Regions from separate parts of the Homo sapiens genome. Here region 1 is linked to region 2. The links are contacts of gene promoters, found by promoter capture Hi-C in blood cells and fetal thymus (Javierre and others, 2016). All regions are on one chromosome and are shown on one strand. The core of a region is centred on a gene start or on the middle of the fragment in contact, and the rest is flanking DNA. Distances in the headings are between cores, read along the strand shown.

Evidence for each region. The method cuts DNA at HindIII sites, captures the fragments that hold promoters and counts their contacts. A CHiCAGO score of 5 or more calls a contact.
Region 1: a contact is called between a fragment that was not itself captured here and the fragment with the promoter of MATN1-AS1 in region 2, in 6 of 17 cell types (total CD8 T cells, naive CD8 T cells, naive B cells and 3 more). The highest score is 6.6, in total CD8 T cells.

Annotation. Positions count from the first base shown.
Region 1 is chr1:31,058,568-31,063,398 of GRCh38, forward strand. PUM1 (pumilio RNA binding family member 1) reads right to left here. Exons shown (of 22, transcript NM_001020658.2): 2 at 637-1,010. The coding sequence starts at 999. Among named protein-coding and RNA genes, the nearest start is that of PUM1, 4.7 kb to the right of the region's middle. The HindIII fragment of the contact is 189 bases long and covers 3,383-3,571 here.
Region 2 is chr1:30,716,750-30,721,509 of GRCh38, forward strand. MATN1-AS1 (MATN1 antisense RNA 1) reads left to right here and starts at 2,023. Exons shown (of 4, transcript NR_034182.1): 1 at 2,023-2,816; 2 at 4,539-4,760. MATN1 (matrilin 1) reads right to left here. Exons shown (of 8, transcript NM_002379.3): 2 at 4,656-4,760; 3 at 1,986-2,208; 4 at 41-166. RefSeq lists silencers at 1,246-1,425, 1,466-1,985, 2,546-2,635 and enhancers at 2,046-2,215, 2,313-2,888. The HindIII fragment of the contact is 4,958 bases long and covers 1-3,747 here.

The sequences.
Region 1 (4,831 bases), core at 2,227-4,726, 340 kb after region 2:
AGGAGAATGGCATGAACCTGGGAGGCGGAGCTTGCAGTGAGCAGAGATCGCGCCAGTGCACTCCAGCCTGGGCAAAAGAGTGAGACTCCGTCTTAAAAAAAAAAAAAAATGCATTCTATAGGCCGGGCGTGGGTGGCTCACAACTGTAATCCCAGCACTTTGGGAGGCCGAAGCGGGCAGATCACTTGAGGTCAGGAGTTCGAGGCCAGCCTGGACAACATGGTGAAACCCTGTTTCTACTGAAAATACATAATCAGCCAGGCGTGGTGGTGCACACCTGTAGTCCCAGCTACTCAGGAGGCTGAGGCAGGAGAACTGCTTGAACCTGGGAGGCAGCAGCTGCAGTGAGCCGAGATCAAGCCGAGATCAGGCGACTACACTCCAGCCTGGGTGACAGAGCAAGACTCTGTCTCAAATGAATGAATGAATGAATGAATTGGCTATTTACTATTTAGCACCAGAATGATAAATGACCCAGTAACAGTATTACAATGATCAACCTTTATAACAAGTAACTGTTTGTACCAAATGAAATCAGCAATTTAAGTTTTTAAAGACATTCATTGAAAGCAGATATCCTAAGTGGACAGTGATTATAAAGGAATGTCAAAGCTAAAATAGTGAACTTTTTTTTACCTGATGTTCTGCATGAATGTTATCCCCAGTAGGCCATCGATGTTTGCTATTATTATAGCCGCCTCCTCCACTTCCTCCTCCCCCAAGCTGCTCACCATGCTGCCTCTGAAAGAAGTAGTCCACCATAGCGTCGTCCTGGGAACGGCCTGCAACTCCTATAGATCCTGGGACAGGGCTGGAGTGAGTCCCAGCTGCAAGAGCCTGATTTGCAGCTGGTTGTGGCTGCGCTTGCGACCCTGTTCCAGATGTCAAAACAACAGGCATGTTGGGATTAGCTGGTTCTTGAGGGTGATGTTTCAGGTGGGGGCTGAAAGAGTCCTGCCAAAGCACTGCTTTTCTCTTCAAGACACATGCAACGCTCATTCCACCAACACCTAAGGACAAACAGGTTACAAATATTTAATATTTCCATCTTTTGAAACATAAAACACACTAAGATAAAAACATGAACCCCATGTCTTTTACAATAAATAAATGTCGTTGGTGGCATGCACTCTGGCAAGGTATTGGGATCAGAACTCAATACTACCACTTCAGAGAAGTTTATGTTGTTAACCAACACATAGCAATACAGAATTAGACTTCTATCAGTCTACCCAACTTACTTATACCTCAAACCAACTGACAGTTTTTAAATGAACAAAAGCTTTTTTTTTTTTGAGACAAGAGTTTTGCCCCTGTTGCCCAGGCTAGGGTGCAATGACGCGATCTCGGCTCACTACAGCCTCCGCCTCCTAGACTCAAGCGACTCTCCTGCCTCAGCCTCCTGAGTAGCTGGTACTACAGGCGCCCACCACCACGGGTGGCTAATTTTTTGTATTTTTAGTAAAGACGGGGTTTCACCATGTTGGCCAGGCTGGTCTCGAACTCCCGACCTCAGGTGATCTACCCACCTCGGCCTCCGGAAGTGCTGGGATTACAGGCGTGAGCCACCGCGCCCAGCCCCAAAAGCCTTTTTAAAACTATCACAACTTCGGCCGGGTGTGGTGGCTCATGCCTGTAATCCCAGCACTTTGGGAGGCCAAAGTGGGTGGATCACCTGACGTCAGGAGTTCAAGACCAGCCTGGCCAACATGGTGAAACCCCATCTCTACTAAAAATATAAAAATTAGCCAGGTATGGTGCTGGGCACCTGTAATCCCAGCTACTCGGGAGGCTGAGGCAGGAGAATGGCTTGAATCCAGAAGGCAAAGGTTGCAGTGAGCCGAGATCATGCCACTGTACTCCAACCTGGGTGACAGAGCGAGACTCTCTCTCAAAAAATCAATCAATCAATCAATCACAACTTTACAGCTGGAGCAGACATATGCTAATAACTAAACAAAAGCCTAAACCCATATATAAGTAGCAATGGCTCAGATTGTGTAATTTGAAAGGATCCCTTAAAGTGTCCAACATATTGGCCAGGCGAGGTGGCTCACGCCTATAATCCCAACACTTCGGAGGCCAAGGCAGGTGTATCACTTGAGGTCAGGAGTTCGAGACCAGCCTGGCCAACATTATGAAACCCCATCTCTACTGGAAATACAAAAATTAACTGGGTGTGGTGGTACACACTTTTAATCCCAACTACTTGGGAAGCTGAGGCAGGAGAATCGTTTGAACCCGGGAGGCAGAGGTTGCAGTGAGCCAAGATCGCACCACTGCACTCCAGCCTGGGCGACAAATCGAGACTCTGTTTCAGTAAAAAAAAAAAAAATAATAAATAAATAAATAAATAAAACCTCCAATATATTGATAGGATATTTCTTAAAGAAACAATAAAACCCTCTGACCAAGAACAGCAGCAGAATGCTTTTAGCCTAAGCCCTCTCCTCAGTTGTCACTGATTTTTAAAAGCATTAATATTTTTACCAGTAACTTACAACTATTAACTGTAATCACATTATGCCATTAGTACTTCAACTACTATAAACAGGATGAGACCAAACCAAATTTAAACACTTCATATTAGTGTAGAAAGCCTCACTACAGGCTGGGCACAGTGGCTCACTCCTGTCATCCCAGCACCTTCGGAGACTTAGGCAGGGAGAATCGCTTGAGCCAGGAGCTGAAGACCAGCCTAGGCAACACAGTGAGACCCCCATCTCTATTATTTTATTAAAAAATAAGGCTCTAAGAAGGCCAATGGAGGTTGGGCACGGTGGCTCATGCCTGTAATCCCAGCACTTTGGGAGGCCGAGGCGGGTGGATCATGAGGTCAGGAGATCAAGACCATCCTGGCTAACATGGTGAAACCCCGACTCTACTGAAAACACAGAAATTAGCCAGGCTTGGTGGCACGCGCCTGTAATCCCAGCTACTTGGGAGGCTGAGGCAGGAGAATCACTTGAACCAGGGAGGCAGAGGTCGCACCACTGTGCTCCAGCCGGGCGACAGAGCGAGACTCTGTCTCAAAATAAATAAATAAATAAAATAATTTTTTTAAATTATAAAAAAAAAAGAAAGCCTCACTATACAAACCAGAAGCCTCAGTTGGGTGTGGTGGCTCATACCTACAATCCCAGCACTTTGGGAGGCTGAGGTGGGCAGACAGCTTGAGCCCAGGAGTTCAAGACCAGCCTGGGCAACATAGCAAGACCTATCTCTACTAAAAATAATTAGCCAGGCATGGTGGCATGTGCCTATAGTCCCAGCTACTAGGGAGGCTGAGGTGGGAGGATCATTTGAGCCCAGGAGCGGGAGGCTGCACACCCGCTTGGGCGACAGAGTGAGTTCCTGTCTCAAAAACAAACAAACAAACAGAAGCTTCAACACGGTAATAGTGTAATGAATATATCGCAGACATTGTCTCATCACAAAAGCATTGAAAGGTAGCCATTATTATTTCTATTTTACAAATGAAAACACTAAGGTACAGGAGGAAAATGGGATGTTTCCAAGGCCATTCAACTAGCAAGTAGCAGAGAAAGGATTCAAACCCTAATCGTTCCCAAGCTTACTTCTTTCTACTAACCCCTTGCAGGAGTAACTCAACAATATGTCTCATTTGTATCCTCTACTCCTCTGGAAGACCAACAAAGAATCCCTCAAATGTTACTATGAAACACTAAAGTTCCTTAAAACCAAAAACTGCATCTGTACTTAAGATAGAACACTTGCCAGCCTGTGGGTGCTTTTAAAAAATGCTACAAAGTGTCCGGACACGGTGGCTTACGCCTGTAATCCCAGCACTTTGGGAGGCGGAGGCAGGCGCATCTCCAGGTCAGAATTCCAGACCAGCCTGGCCAATATACTGAAACCCCGTCTCTACTAAAAATATAAAAAGTAGCCAGGTGTGGTGGCACGCACCTGTAGTCCCAGCTACTCGGGAGACTGAGGCAGAAGAATCGCTTGAACCCAGGAGGCGGAGGTTGCAGTGAGCCGAGATCAAGGCACTGCACTCCAGCCTGGACGACAGAGTGAGACTCCATCTCAAAAAAAAAAAAAAAAAGCTACAAAGTAAATAAATCAGTTACCAATTAGGACACACCTGTCCACAGCCACGGTCTAATTTCAAAGCCATCGGCCTAACAGTCTACTGCTACAAATGCTTTATCTCTTCTCCCAACCCCCACTGTGATGCTTCAAAAACACATGAATAACAAATCTACTATCTCTCTGTTGAATAAATAAACCTTCTGATAAAGTAGCATTTGCTTCTCACAACTAAATTCATGTTTTTGAAGCCAGCCTAAGAAGACACAATGGAATTTGTAATTTGTTTAAAGCCTAATTTGGAAATGCCTAGTCTAGGTTAAGAATTCCAATCCATCAGAACCTTAGCAGGGTACTGGAGTAGTCTAACCTAGACACTAGTCCCTGCTCAAGTACCAAAACCAAAAAGTCATAGCCCGGTTTCACCATCGGTCTTTCAAAAGTGCAAACCAGCCTAATGCCTCCCTGCTTGGTTTTTTAAAGAATTCATTACTCTCTTAGTACTAATACTAGACAGTCCCATTCTGTTCTAAAAGGAAATCTCGACCTAACAATCTTTGTTCTAGAGCAGGCCAAGAGTTCCAAAACCCAAGTTCTTTCACTAAACAAAACTACCTGTTTCCTCATCTAGAAAATGAAAGAAATCCTTCCTCTATGACTCTCAATGTTTTGGGTTTTTCTTAATGAAAATGAGATAAATATAAAAGTTTTTGGTAAATTTAAAGTCATCGTGCTTAAGACTCTTAGAATTTAGTTACCCCTAGTTAAGGCAACTCCA
Region 2 (4,760 bases), core at 773-3,272:
CACACCCTCTCCAGGGCGAGCCTGTGTCCACCCCACTGACCATTGCAGGTCTTGCCGTCGCTGTTCAGAGTGAAGCCCTCGTGGCAGGCGCAGGTGTAGGAACCGGGGGAGCTGATGCACACCTGCTCACAGTCATGGTCCCCTGTGGCGCACAGGTCTGACACCACTGCGGGGACAATAAGTAGCTCAGATCTCACAGTCATAGTGCCTTGGGCACTACAGACAGGTTGTCCCTCCCTGACTGTGGATACCAGGCCCCATCCAGACTCAGGGAAACTAAGATCTCCAACATACTGGGGCCCAGGCCCCCGACTCTCAGCCCACGTCTGGAATCATTGCACCAGTGCCTAGATCCCTGAAGAAGGTTATAATGCTGATGATAAGAATGAAAAGTCTCACTAAAAAGGTAAAGGCCAAGGGTTAGGGCCTTTAGTCTGTTTAGTTCACTGCTGTATCAAGACACCCAAGTGTCTAGAACAGCATACAATGAACACAGCACCTATCTGTCAAATACCATATAATGAGGGTTACATTTTGCATTATCTCACTGGATCCTCTCAATAACGTGCATGCTCTTCTTAGACCCATTTTACAAATGGGTAAAGTCCCTGCCCTAACCCTGATCCTGTCCTACTGGACACCCTGCCCCTGCGGGTCACATCCCAAAGACCCACACACACACCTCCCCTCCGAGAAGGGCTCTGAACCTTCTCCTGCCAGTGCCCAGGCCTCTCAGACTCTCCCGCATCACAGAAAACTCTGGCACCCAAAACTCACGACACAGAAACATGTGTAGGTTTTCTGGGAGCTCTCCTTCCTGAGCTCTGGGCCCTCCTTGGTCCCTGCCAGGATTCTGCCACATAAAAGGGCTCTGTTGTTTTTTGTGTGTGCGGTTTTTTTTTTTGTTTTGTTTTTTTTTTGAGACGGAGTCGTCTCGCTCTGTCGCCCAGGCTGGAGTGCAGTGGCACGATCTCGGCTCACTGCAAGCTCCGCTTCCCGGGTTCACGCCGTTTTCCTGGCGCAGCCTCCCGAGTAGCTGGGACTACAGGCGCCCGCAACAACGCCCGGCTAATTTTTTGTATTTTTAGTAGAGACCGGTTTCACCATGTTGGCCAGGATGGTCTCGATCTCCTGACTTCGTGATCCGCCCGCCTCGGCCTCTCAAAGTGCTGGGATTACAGGCGTGAGCCACCGCGCCCGGCCATAAAAGGACTCTTAACATCGCCTCTCCCCAACTCCCTTAACCTGGGGCTGGAGACCCTCCTCCGTTATCAGGCTCCGCCCCAGCTACGGCCCCACCCCTGGTGCTGGCACCACCTCAGTCTAATCCAGGTTCCACCCCCAATCCACCTAAGCCGTGTCCCTAGCCCTGGCCCCGCCCTGATGTTGCCGTGTAACTCAGTTCCCGCCGTTTTATAGGCTACCGCCCCAGCCAGGCCCCGCCCTCTGATGTGGCCCCGCCCCCCGACGCTGACTTTTTCTGTCTTCACTTTAGCGCTGGCTCCGCCCCTAGCCTTGGCCCGCCTCAGCGCGGACTCTCAGTCTCTGCGCCTGCCACGGCCTCGTCCCGCTCAGCCCTGGCCCTGCCCCTGGAGCCGACTCTCTCCGCCTCCGCCCCGGTCCCGCCCTGGCACTGACTGTCTCCGTCTTCGCCCCTGCCCTGGCCCCGCCCCCTGCCTGCTCTGGCCCCGCCCCGCCGCTCTCTCCGTCTCCGCCCCTGCCCTGGCCCCACCCTTGCCCCGCCCCGGCGCTGACTCTCTCCGTCTCCGCCTCCGCCCCCGGCTCCTCCCCGGCCCCGCCCCGGCACTGACATTCTATCTCTCTCCCGTCTCCGCCTCTGCCCCCCCCCCGGCCCCGCCCCTGCCCTGCGCCGGCGCTGGCTCCGTCTGCGCCTCAGCCTCGGTCCCGCCTCCAGCCCTGGCCCCGCCCCGCCGCTCTCCCCTTCTCCGCCCCTGCCCTGGCTCCGCCCCCGCCTGCCCGCGCACCGCAGAAGGCCTCCTGGAACTTCCTGGACAGCTTCTCGATGACGCTGTAGCTCTCCACGTAATCGACGTGTTCGTCCTGCGGCTCGCTGGCGATCTGCCGCAGCGTGGCCTTGTCCACGCTGCCCACTCCGATGGCGAACAGCTCGACGCCGCTGGCCCGGGCCCGCGCAGACACGTCCTGCACGCTGTCCTGGGGCCTCCCGTCTGTCACCACGATGACCACCTGCGACACGCGGGGCGGTGTGACACCGGGCTCCCGGAAGCCCACGGGACTGTCCAGGAGAGGAGGCTGAGGCCCGGAGAGGCGGGAGGACTGCCGGGTCGCACAGCCAGGCGGCACCCGGGGGAAGAGGACCCGGCTGGCCGAAGAGGAGACCCGTTTCCTCTGACTGAGAGACGTGGCTGGGGGGCTTTCCATCTGCTTCGCCTCCCTCGGGCAGGCAGCTCTGAGATGCCCGGAGGGATGTGATGCCCCATCGCCAAATTGGGGTCTCTAAGGTCAGGGCCATGCCTTCCCCTCAGACTGAGGCGGCTGAGGGCAGGGTCCTCAGGCTGATGGCTGTGGGAGTCGTGCCACGCCCCTCGTGCCCCCGGGAGGCCCGGCCGGGGCTGGGTGGGGGGATCCGGTGGTTCCACATGGTGCAGTTCTGCGCTTTGGCCACCAGATGGCAGCCGAAGCTAAGGGATGGGGCTGCCGTCTCCCGTCTTGCTGTCCTTGTCCCGGTAAGACCGGGGACCCTGGACCAGGGAACCGACGGAGGGCCACTCCCATGTGGATGCCCAAGGGACCAACCCAAGAAAGATGCCGCCCTTATCCTCCTCCACTCCCCGGTATGATACATGCCCCTGCCAGAGAGGGAAAGAATCTGCCTGCTCCCCTCCCACTAGGCTCCTCTGGTCTGTACCCTGGAAAGAAAGAGGTGGCGGACTCTGTCACTGAGATCCGGCTTCGTGACCCCCTGTCTGCACCCGCCCTGAGGCTAGGGCGCTCCCAGCTCTGCCCAGTCTGGGTTAGGCATCCAGTCCCGCTTTGCTGCTTCTCTGCTTCTGACTTGGGTCTGTTTCTGATTCCTGGGTCCCATCCTTAGCCCCAGGTCCTGACACCCTGTCCTGATGACAGGCAGTTGAGACAGGCCGTGTTTAGAAATGCAGCTCCACAAGCTACAGGTCACCTTCCTGAGCCTCAGTGTCTTCAACTGTAAAAAGGGTTGTGGTGAGGTTGAGTGAGATGACTCCTGGTTAGAAGCCAGAAGGGGCAACTATTATTTTTACCATCATTACCCTGGGCTACCTGGGGAGTGACTTTGTACAATCTCTTCCTCTCCAGGGGCCTGGGCTCCTGGCTCTGAAAATCTAGCTGTGACTATTCGCTGCCATCCCGAGGCCCACTGCCTCCTCGAGTCCCTACTCCCCTCCCTGCAACCCAGCTTTCAGATTGTCCACCTTGCTGGGTCCTCCCACAGGTGAACTCCAGGCTGAACACCTGGAGTCTGGTGCCAGCTCCCCCAGCGCCGCTGTGTCACCTGCTGGAGGAGCTCTCTCCTCACTTGCCCACCCCACGCCACCACCCCCATCTCCTTCACCCTCTCCACCACCTCAACCATCAGCTTCATCTACAGCACCCCGTGCTGAAACTTGTAGTTGGCCCCAAGACCGACAGGCTGCCTGATACGTCATTTCTCTAAGGGGTGGTAATGGCTGGGATTATATGCTGTTGTCTCTGTGAATGCTTTTCCCACTTATTGGCTGAGCAAGTTGCTTAAGCTTCTTATGCCTCAGTTTCACCATCTGTAAAATGGGGATACCACCTCCGAGCAGAATCATGTTCATTTATCCACTGTGTGCTAGAGAGTGGGGTATGGAGGAGGGATAAGAAAGAACCTCCCCTGAGCTGGGGCCCTGAGCAGGGAAGTGGCGACTCGGGCTAACGAAGGCTGCAGTGGGGAAGTGCTGGAGCCTGTGGGGGTGCCACAGGAACAGAGGACACCTGGCTTAGCCTCAGGTTCTGTGCTGAGCCCTGAACATGACAGTGAGGATACAAGTCCTGGGAAACGCTCAGCCCTCTGCCTGGAGCCCTCACTGACAGCACAGGTGGCAGCACAGCCCTTCCATTTCTGAGCCCCTGCCCTCGGAGAATTATGAAATTAAAAATTATCAAATGCCATGATGGGAAGCCTTATGCTTTTGAACTCAGTCCTCAGCAGCACTTGGAGAAGGTGTTATCATTACTCCCATTTTACAGGTGAGGAAACCGAGCACCAGTGACATGACGTCACTTGCTCGGGGTGGCACAGCTAGTATGGTGGAGCAGGGCGTGAACCCAGGCAGGCTGGTGGCGGAGGCCACACCTTCACTCCTCCCATAAGCATCTGGCCTGTCTGCAATGTCTTCAAGGGGCTCAGACTGGTCGGGAACCAAGGTCAACTAAACTGAAATGATTGTAAGCTCCTAGGATGGAAAGGTTGGGTAAAGGTGGCTTCAAATCCCAGCTCTGTCACTTGCAACTGGTGACCTCTGTCTAATGACCGCCCCTCTCTGACCCTGTTTCCCCAGCTATGAAATGGCCACCTCACGGGGCATCATGGGAATCAAAGTGTCTGCAGGCAAAGCTCATAACTCCGAGCGGGAGCCTCCAAACAGCAGCATCCTAGCAGGGTGGCGTGCACGTACCTTGCTGATGTCAGGGGACCTGGAACGACCACCCTCTGCATCGCCGAAGGCTTTGGTGATAGCGAACTGGATGGCCAGGCCGGTCATGGTGCCTGTGGACAGCGG